Linked DNA regions of Homo sapiens: all the other regions are linked to region 1. The links are contacts of gene promoters, found by promoter capture Hi-C in human tissues and cell types (Jung and others, 2019). All regions are on one chromosome and are shown on one strand. The core of a region is centred on a gene start or on the middle of the fragment in contact, and the rest is flanking DNA. Distances in the headings are between cores, read along the strand shown. Region 1 holds the start of HSPA5 (heat shock protein family A (Hsp70) member 5). Region 2 has its middle 71 kb from the start of ZBTB43. Region 3 overlaps MVB12B (multivesicular body subunit 12B).

Region 1 (2,834 bases), core at 250-2,749:
TGCCACTGCAGTCCAGCCTGGGCAACAGAGCAAGACTCCATCTCAAAAAAAAAAAATTACAGTCAAACCATCACTTTAGTTTTTAAGCCAACTTATTGATGAATACAACATATAAAATTTTATGTCCCTGGAATTGTAAGCATTAAATAATACATGAAAAGTCTATTTTGTTTGGCTTATAGTAAGGGACTCAATAATTAAACCTGACAAGCATGAATACCATTCTGATTAAAATTTTTGAAACCCTTCACGAAGGCTTCTATACATAACAGCCAACCGAGAATACTAATGATCAAAAAATACTTAACATTGTTCTAGAAATATTTACCTTCTTTCCCAAATAAGCCTCAGCGGTTTCTTTCATTTTAGTGAGAACCATGGCAGAAATTTCTTCAGGAGCAAATGTCTTTGTTTGCCCACCTCCAATATCAACTTGAATGTATGGTTTAGTTTTCTTTTCAACCACCTATTTTAAAGAATTATTGTTTTCAGACACAGATACAATGACATCTCAAAGTTTAAAAGACCCACTACCATCCCCACAATTTGGTTTATTTTGGTCCCTTGGGGCTGCAAATTGACTAGAAATACTTCAGGGAGTATAGGTGTCTTACAAAGTTCAGTTTTAATCGGTCTTTTATTCCTAAACTATCGTAGACAGTACGACAGCAACTGTCTTAAGTTTTGTAACATACTAATAGTATTAAAGTTATTACATACATCATGTCTATAACCTTCAACTGTTGTCTCAACACTTTTCCAGAGACTTATAACTCTAAATACTCCCACCACCCACCCGTTCTCTAACTGGATGAGAAAAACCCGGTCGAACCTTGAACGGCAAGAACTTGATGTCCTGCTGCACAGACGGGTCATTCCACGTGCGGCCGATGAGCCGCTTGGCGTCAAAGACCGTGTTCTCGGGGTTGGAGGTGAGCTGGTTCTTGGCGGCATCGCCAATCAGACGTTCCCCTTCAGGAGTGAAGGCGACATAGGACGGCGTGATGCGGTTGCCCTGATCGTTGGCGATGATCTCCACGCGGCCGTTCTTGAACACGCCGACGCTGGCAGAAAAACCCGACAGAGGGACATCAGCACCGCACTTCTCACGCCAGGCCAGGCGGCCACGCCCCGTCCCCCTGCATCCGCAACCCCACTTACCAGGAGTAGGTGGTCCCCAGGTCGATGCCGACCACCGTGCCCACGTCCTCCTTCTTGTCCTCCTCCTCGGCCCGCGCCGCGCTGAGCAGCAGCAGCATCGCGGCCACCAGGGAGAGCTTCATCTTGCCAGCCAGTTGGGCAGCAGCAGGCAGTCCAGCCACAGGCCGTAGCACAGGAGCACAGCGCAATTTCCGACTTGCAGGCGGCAGGGGCCCGGGGTCACAAGGCGCCACGAACCAGGCGAAGGGCAGGTCTAGAAATACAGGCCGCGGCGCTTCCCTCTCACACTCGCGAAACACCCCAATAGGTCAATCTGTCTGTGCTGTCTTGGCCGGCGTCGACCTCACCGTCGCCTACTCGGCTTATATACCCTCCCCCAGCCCCGTCGTGGAGGCCGCCGATTGGTGAAGGCCCTGCTCGTTGGAGGCCGTTCATTGGCCCAGGCCACCAAGCTGGCCGCCGCCGATTCGAAGCGGCCCCCTCCGCAATAAACGTCACTGCTCCGCCCCCCCCAGCTGATTCATTGGCTGCTATTCGTTTCTAACGTTCACCAATGGTAGATAACATCCGCCCCATCCGCTGGTCCCATTGGTTCAGCAGCTGTCTATCTCTCCTGCGACTTCTGACCCCGAGGCATTTCCGCTGGTAACCGCACAAGTCCCGCCTTCACTCCCGGCCCTAGGGGGTCGGAGTAGGTCCAGCAGGAGTGACCCCCCGGGGCTGTGGGATCTGAAACTTTTTCTTCTCTACTGCTTGTTCTCCCTTCCTCCATCCCTCACCCCGAAGCGGGAAGCAGCTTTCTCTTCCCAGCTTCCATCCAGTCTCTGAGTAGACCAGTCGCAGCTTAGATGCTGGGATCGCCTCAGAACACATTTCTTTGCCCTTCACGGCCACTACCGGTATTGGGGTATGCGAGTCTCAGGGCCGTTCGTTGCTCACAGGTCGAGCTGGTCTGGACTCTGTTCGACCACGAATCATGACTCCTTCCTGCCAGTTATGTCCCCTCCGCACCCTTGCCCAGCCATTTTACCAGGCCTCTCCACATTGCGCTGCCCCACGGTAAGTCGCAGGACAAGCCCGGCCAAAGGAATTGCCTCCAGCTCTGAGTCCCCTCCCTACTGTGGCAACCCACTCCAGTGCCAGCCCTCCCACACTGGATGTCTAATTTTTCTAGCTTGCCACCCTTTACTTTCCCCTCCGCTGCCCATCCTTTCCCTCTGGGGCAAAGGTTATCATTTACGGGGCTTTCTCCATCCTTTATTGTTGATACTTTTCTACCTTCATTCCAGGAAAAGGTCTGATGTACACGCAGACAACACATTTGATAGGCGAAAATCGTCTTGATAATGCCTTATTCTTATATAACATCCTGTTGCAAAAAATAATAGAGACCACTATTTGCTGAAAGCCTACCGTGGATTAAGCATTGTTCAGTGTGCTTTTCATGTGTCATTTAGTCTTGACAGTTCAATACTCGGTAGGCATTTCCCGTTTTCCAGATGAGGACATTGAAACTGAAAAAGATTAAATAACTAAACAAGTCACAGAGCTGGTGAGTGATGGAGTTAGGATTGATAACCAGGTGGAGTTCACTCTATTGCCAATACTTTTTTTTTTTTCAAGACGGAGTATCACTCTGTCACGCCCAGGCTGGAGTTCAGTAGTGCAATCTC
Region 2 (2,834 bases), core at 212-2,711, 1.5 Mb after region 1:
GATTTAATTTGTTCATATTTACTGTGACATTTTATTTAGAACTATTTATAACATCTTATTTATGTCTGCATGGGTCTCTTCACTATACTTTTCTTTGTCCCTTATTTCTTTTTTTCTGTCGTCCATTGAATTAATCATTTCCCCTTTTCCCCTATTGGTTCATAAATTATATATTCTATTTATATTATTTGAATAGTTATCCTTAAATTTTAACATAATTGATAGAACGAAGCCAAGAGATAATAATCAGTATCTCCTTAATAATATGAGAACTGATATTTAATTCATGTGTCAGCCCCATCATCCATATCTTTATTGCCTAGCTTTTAGTTTCACCTTACGTTTTTTTGTTTTTTTTTTAAGACGGTCTCCTGCTCTGCCGCCCAGGCTGGAGTGCAGTGGCGCGATCTCGGCTCACTGCAAGCTCCGCCTCCCAGGTTCACGCCATTCTCCGGCCTCAGCCTCCCGAGTAGCTGGGACTACAGGCGCCCGCCACCTGTATTTGTATTTTTTGTATTTTTAGTAGAGACGGGGTAGTTTCACCTTATTCTTTACTCTCCCATTAGTTAGTTATGTTTTAGAGCTAAGGCTTACCGTATTTTATCAAACCTGAGATTTCAGCAATTGTAAGAAACGCTATTATTTTATGGTCCCCTAAGAAAAAAAGGGGGTGACATCAGCAAAAATGGCAGAGTAAGGTCTTCTGAAAGTTCCTTCCTTCATAAAAGCAATGAAAACACTGGCAACAATTGTCAGAAACAACTCTTACAGAACTCCGGAAATTAATCAAAGGCTTGCAGCAATCTGGGAGTACTAAAAAAAAAAAAAAAAAAAAAAAAAAAAAAAGCCAACAGCTATATCTCAGTAAAAACAGCAAGCTCTGTGGCATTTTAACTTTTCCTATTTCCACATCCCCCGTCCCCAGCTCTCCAGTAGCCTTTTCACTGCAATTACAGTAAAAATCAACAGTCTGGTAACCAGTGGAAGGGACCGAAGGGGTTGGAGCAGTTCAAAGTCCCATTCCCAGAGAATTGTCAGTATTTGACTTGTCTGGTGGTTCCACGGAAGATCCCACTTAGAAAGCTGTCTTTATTCCACCTGATTCAGAGCTCACCCAGTGAAAACAACTTTTCTTCAGGCCCATATGCCCAAAACATTAGAGGCAATTGTTGAACATTGGGTGCCAGAGGCTGCCGTAGCTGTTGGGGCAAGCAAGAAGCTGAGCAAAAAGCTTAAAAGGAAAATCTGGGGCGTGAGATGACAATAGGGGGCCTTTTAAAAGCTCCGACGTATCCCAGGGAATCAAGAAAGCCAGACACATCTGTAGGGCTGTGCACATGCTCTGGAAAGATGTGGGAAGGCCTTAAACTCTCACCTCTGGCTAACCTTGAAGCTCTGCGTCAGCAGGAAGTGAAGGCAAAAGCGGAGTTGTACGCTGCCTGACTGGATGTTGAAGGCATGCCCCAAAACACACATATACACAAATATAGCCCCTCAAAGAGACTTAGGGACTTATTGGTTCTAGGCATTTAAGAAAATGTCGACTGGGCACGGTGCTTACGTCTGTAATCCCAGCAATTTGGGAGGCCGAGGCAGGTGGATCACGCAATCAGGAGATCGAGACCATCCTGGCCAACATGGCGAAACCCCATCTCTACTAAAAATACAAAAGTTACCTGGGCATGCTGGCGCGTGCCTGTAGTCCCAGGTACTTGGGAGGCTGAGGCAGGAGGTTCACTTGAACCCGGGAGGCAGAGGTTACAGTGAACCAAGATCGTGCACTGCACTCCAGTCTGGCGACAGAGCGAGATTCCATCTCAAAAAGAAAAGAAAAGAAAAGAAAAGAAAAGAAAATGTCTGTCCAGCTGTTACCTGGCCCACTAAGGTAACAAATCAGAGATTTCAGTAGCCAACACATGACAAGGAATATGTCACAGTAGCCACACATGACAAAGAATATAGACCTTGCAGAATTTGTTCAGAAAAGTCACTAAACAAGCAACAAAAAGCTACCACAAATACAAACCTTGGGGGGCAGAAAGGAGAGGAGGAATTGGATTTCCAGAGTTGCCACATTCAATTATTTGAAATGGCCAATTTTCAACACAAAATTGAGACATGCCAAAAAAAAAAAAAAGCAAGAAAATATGGCCCACAAACAGCAAAAAAGCAATAAATTGAAACTGTACCTGTGGAAACCCAGACATTGAATTTATGAGGAAAGCAACTTAAATCAGCTATCTTAAGTGTGTTCAAAGAACTAAAAGAAACCAAGTCTAAAAACTAAAGTGAAGTATGAAAATAATGTCTTATTAAGTAGAGAATATCAATATCAATAAAGAGATAGAAATTATAAGAAAGGGCTGTGCAGTATGACTCATGCCTGTAATCCCAGCACTTTGGGAGGCCAAGGCAGGAGTATCACTTGAGGTCAGGAGGTTGAGACCAGCCTTGCCAACATGGTGAAATCCTGTCTCTGCTAAAAATACAAAGATTAGCTGGGCATGGTGGCACACACCTGCAATCCCAGCTACTCGGTATGCTGACACAGGAGAATCACTTGAACCCAGGAGGCAGAGGTTGCAGTGAGCCAAGATCGTGCCACTGCACTCCAGCCTGGGTGACAGAACAAGACTCCTTCTCAAAAAAAGAAAGAAATTATAGGAAAGAACCAAATAGAATAGTCAAAAAGTAAAATAGCAGAAGTAAAAAATTTACTAGAGGGACTTAATGCAGATTTGAACAAGTGGAAGAAAGAATCAATACACTTGAAGATAGGTCAACTGAGATTCTCTAGTATGAGAAACAGAATAAAGTGAAGAAAATAAATGAAG
Region 3 (2,834 bases), core at 224-2,723, 1.1 Mb after region 1:
ACCTCAAGTGATCCACCTGCCTCGGCCTCCCAAAGTGCTTGGATTACAGGCATGAGCCACCATGCCTGGCAGATTTTTTTTTTTTTTTTTTTTGAGACAGAGTCTCACTCTATTGCCCAGGCTGAAGTACAGAGGCATGATCTTGGCTTACTGCAGCCTCAACCTCCCAGGCTCCAACAATCCTCCTACTTCAGCTTCCTGAGTAGCTGGGACTACATGCATGAGTGCCACCACACCCAGCCAATTTTTTTAATTTGTAGAGATGGGGTTTCGCCATGTTTCCCAGGCTGGTCTCAAACTCCTGAACTCAAGCTACCCACGCACTTTGGCCTCCCAAAGTGTTGGGATTACAGGCATGAGCAACAGCGCCCGGCCTCCAGTTCGATTTGTGACTCTGAGTGGCCCGGTTGAAAAATGTGCACCCGAAATTAATTTATTCAGCAAGTAGTTACTGAGCACCTGCTGTGTGGCAAAAACCATGCTAGGCTTGTATTTATAGTAGGAACAGAGATAGTTTTGGTCTTCATGGTTCTTAAACTCTAGAAGCAAGACAGATATTAAACAAATAACCCCATAAATTGATAGGAAGGGAAAAAGAGAGTGCCAAGAGGGAACATAACACAGTTTAGATGATAAGAACTCCCTGCTTGGCTTTCAGAGACGTGACACAGTGCAGGTGGAGGTGGGATCTTGGCTCCCATGTGCAGAGATGGAGGTAGCAGCCCTTCTTCTCTAAGCAAGATGGAACAACAGCCTGAGAAGTTGCTGTCCAGGGCAGAGTGATGGCTGACCAACTAGATGCTTGTCCAAGGATGCTGAACAAGTAAACAGAGAGCATGTTCACACTGGGCTTCGGGGATGAGGCACTTCTGCAAAATGGGCACGTGGAGTGCACTGCTAGTATCCTAACAGGAGAGATTTGGGATTTGAGCCCATCATTCTTTCCTTAACTGGCTCTGACGAGAGAGGGGGAACCAAGCTGCAAATTACTCTGAAGATTTTAATGAAATCTCCAAAGTGGCCCCACATATTTAAGTTGTAGGGTAGATATCTTTAGAGCTCATTTCCAGCTTGAAATGTGGGCTGCAAGTGCTGGCGTGTTTGCAAAGAATTCTCTCTCGCAATTACAGAATGGTGTACTGTCTTAGAAAGATATTTGTACACCAGTTACCGAAACTGCGCACTGTGGACCCCATATACTACCACTAAACAGAAACTTTAGGAGGCCCTTGTGCGTGTCATTTTAGAAGATGTGTAATATTGAGGCAGCAGGGCTTTCACTCTGTATTAGTGTATGATTCTTGGGATTTTGCAGAATGTATCTAGCAACTGAAATGTGTGTCAGTATGCAGACTGGTGATCACTTAGGAGAGTGATTGGTTCCCTGTTAGGTTTAGATGCAGCTCTTTCCTACGAGTGCCTCAGGAATTTGCTCTTCCTAAAACCTCCTGGCCTTGAGATCTGATGCTCAGGGCTGAATGGCAGCCTGGTCCTGGGACCTGTGTGCACAGCTGCCCTCTGCTGGGTTATGTCTAAAGCATCTCCTGGGTTGCTCCTGCCTCACCAAGGCCGTGTCTGAGTTGAGTGGCTTTGAGGTTCCGCAGATGAAACTCCTTCCCAGGGGCCACACGAGTCCCTGCATAACCACTGGGGACCATTAAGTGTCACCTACTCTAATTAACCTGCTGTCATAAAGCTGCACGAGTCATTGTGTTAAATATGCATCTGGAAGCCAAAATGGCAAACCCACCACATGCATGTTCAGATTAATAGTCTGTATCTCTTTTCTTTCTTCCCAAGAGTCATCTGGGGAACGTGTTAGTAGATATGAAGCTCATTGACATCAAGGACACACTGCCTGTGGGCTTCATCCCAATTCAGGAGACGGTGGACACACGTGAGTCATCCTTTAGTAGCACTCATCACAATGAGCGTTTTCTTCCTCCAGGTATATTTGTAGGTGTTTTTCTATGTGCATTTTTCTTCAGAAACACTTTTGGAGGCCTTACTACATGCCCATGAACAAACCCTGCTGCTTTTGATGTGTGTCTGGCTGGGTTCTCCAAGGAGTTTGCAGAGTATTCTGGGTAGCAGCATGTAAATGAGCAGAACGTGCCTTTCTTTTAGAATGGTGCTCCCTGCTGAATCGGCTCACTGGGGAATGGAATGGTGAAACTATACAGTTTGTCTTTAGTCCTTCCTCTGGTGTTGCTGAAGCCAAGCTTGGCATAAGACCCAGAAGGAAGCGGAAAGAAAACAATCAAAAGACGCCCAGAGAACACAAGGCCAATAATGTGCCCATTTGGGGCCCGTTGAGCAAACAAGAAAAGTGAGAATCAAAAAGACTGCAAATTAAAGTTCATAGGTTCGAATTGGACTGAATATTCTGACCACTGAGCAGGTCCAAGCAGAAGTGAATCACTGAGGAATCGGCAGCGTCTTCAGGGTGTTGGAGCCCTTGGAGCTTCTTGACCCACACATGGGTTATTAAATGGTGCTGGAAAACCTCTGGTGATTCGGCTTCCTTGTTTTGGTGTAATTTAACTTACCTTGTTTCATTTTTAATCACTGGTCAGCCAACTTTATGGTATTTACAACAGTGAAGCAATGAATACAAAACAAATACAGAGAATCCTTTCATTACGACTCAGGGTTTATTTATTAAATTCTCTGTCTCATTTTCTGTCTCATACTTTATTCTTTCATAATTAGCCCCACTTTGGTCCCACTGTTTTTTGCTGTTTTCTTGCTAGCACTTCATATGATATGAACTAGAGTTTCTATCTTTACGCAGATCCCCTGCTGTTATTTTCATGAAACCAGCAGACCCCGTT

Evidence for each region. The method cuts DNA at HindIII sites, captures the fragments that hold promoters and counts their contacts. A contact is called where the count stands out against the background at its distance.
Region 2: a contact is called between a fragment that was not itself captured here and the fragment with the promoter of HSPA5 in region 1, in 1 of the 25 tissues and cell types used here (dorsolateral prefrontal cortex).
Region 3: a fragment that was not itself captured here is called in contact with the fragment with the promoter of HSPA5 in region 1 in 1 of the 25 tissues and cell types used here (lymphoblastoid cells).

The regions. Positions count from the first base shown.
Region 1 is chr9:125,239,844-125,242,677 of GRCh38, forward strand. HSPA5 (heat shock protein family A (Hsp70) member 5) reads right to left here and starts at 1,500. Exons shown (of 8, transcript NM_005347.5): 1 at 1,162-1,500; 2 at 833-1,064; 3 at 329-466. The coding sequence starts at 1,283. HSPA5-DT (HSPA5 divergent transcript) reads left to right here and starts at 1,813. Exons shown (of 3, transcript NR_186826.1): 1 at 1,813-2,220. RefSeq lists enhancers at 909-988, 1,130-1,634, 1,527-1,821, 1,635-2,139, 1,789-2,098. The HindIII fragment of the contact is 17,872 bases long and covers 1-2,834 here.
Region 2 is chr9:126,732,218-126,735,051 of GRCh38, forward strand. No RefSeq gene overlaps it. Among named protein-coding and RNA genes, the nearest start is that of ZBTB43, 71 kb to the right of the region's middle. The HindIII fragment of the contact is 3,995 bases long and covers 1-2,834 here.
Region 3 is chr9:126,384,762-126,387,595 of GRCh38, forward strand. It overlaps MVB12B (multivesicular body subunit 12B), which reads left to right. Exons shown (of 10, transcript NM_033446.3): 4 at 1,801-1,897. Among named protein-coding and RNA genes, the nearest start is that of NRON, 24 kb to the right of the region's middle. The HindIII fragment of the contact is 7,787 bases long and covers 1-2,834 here.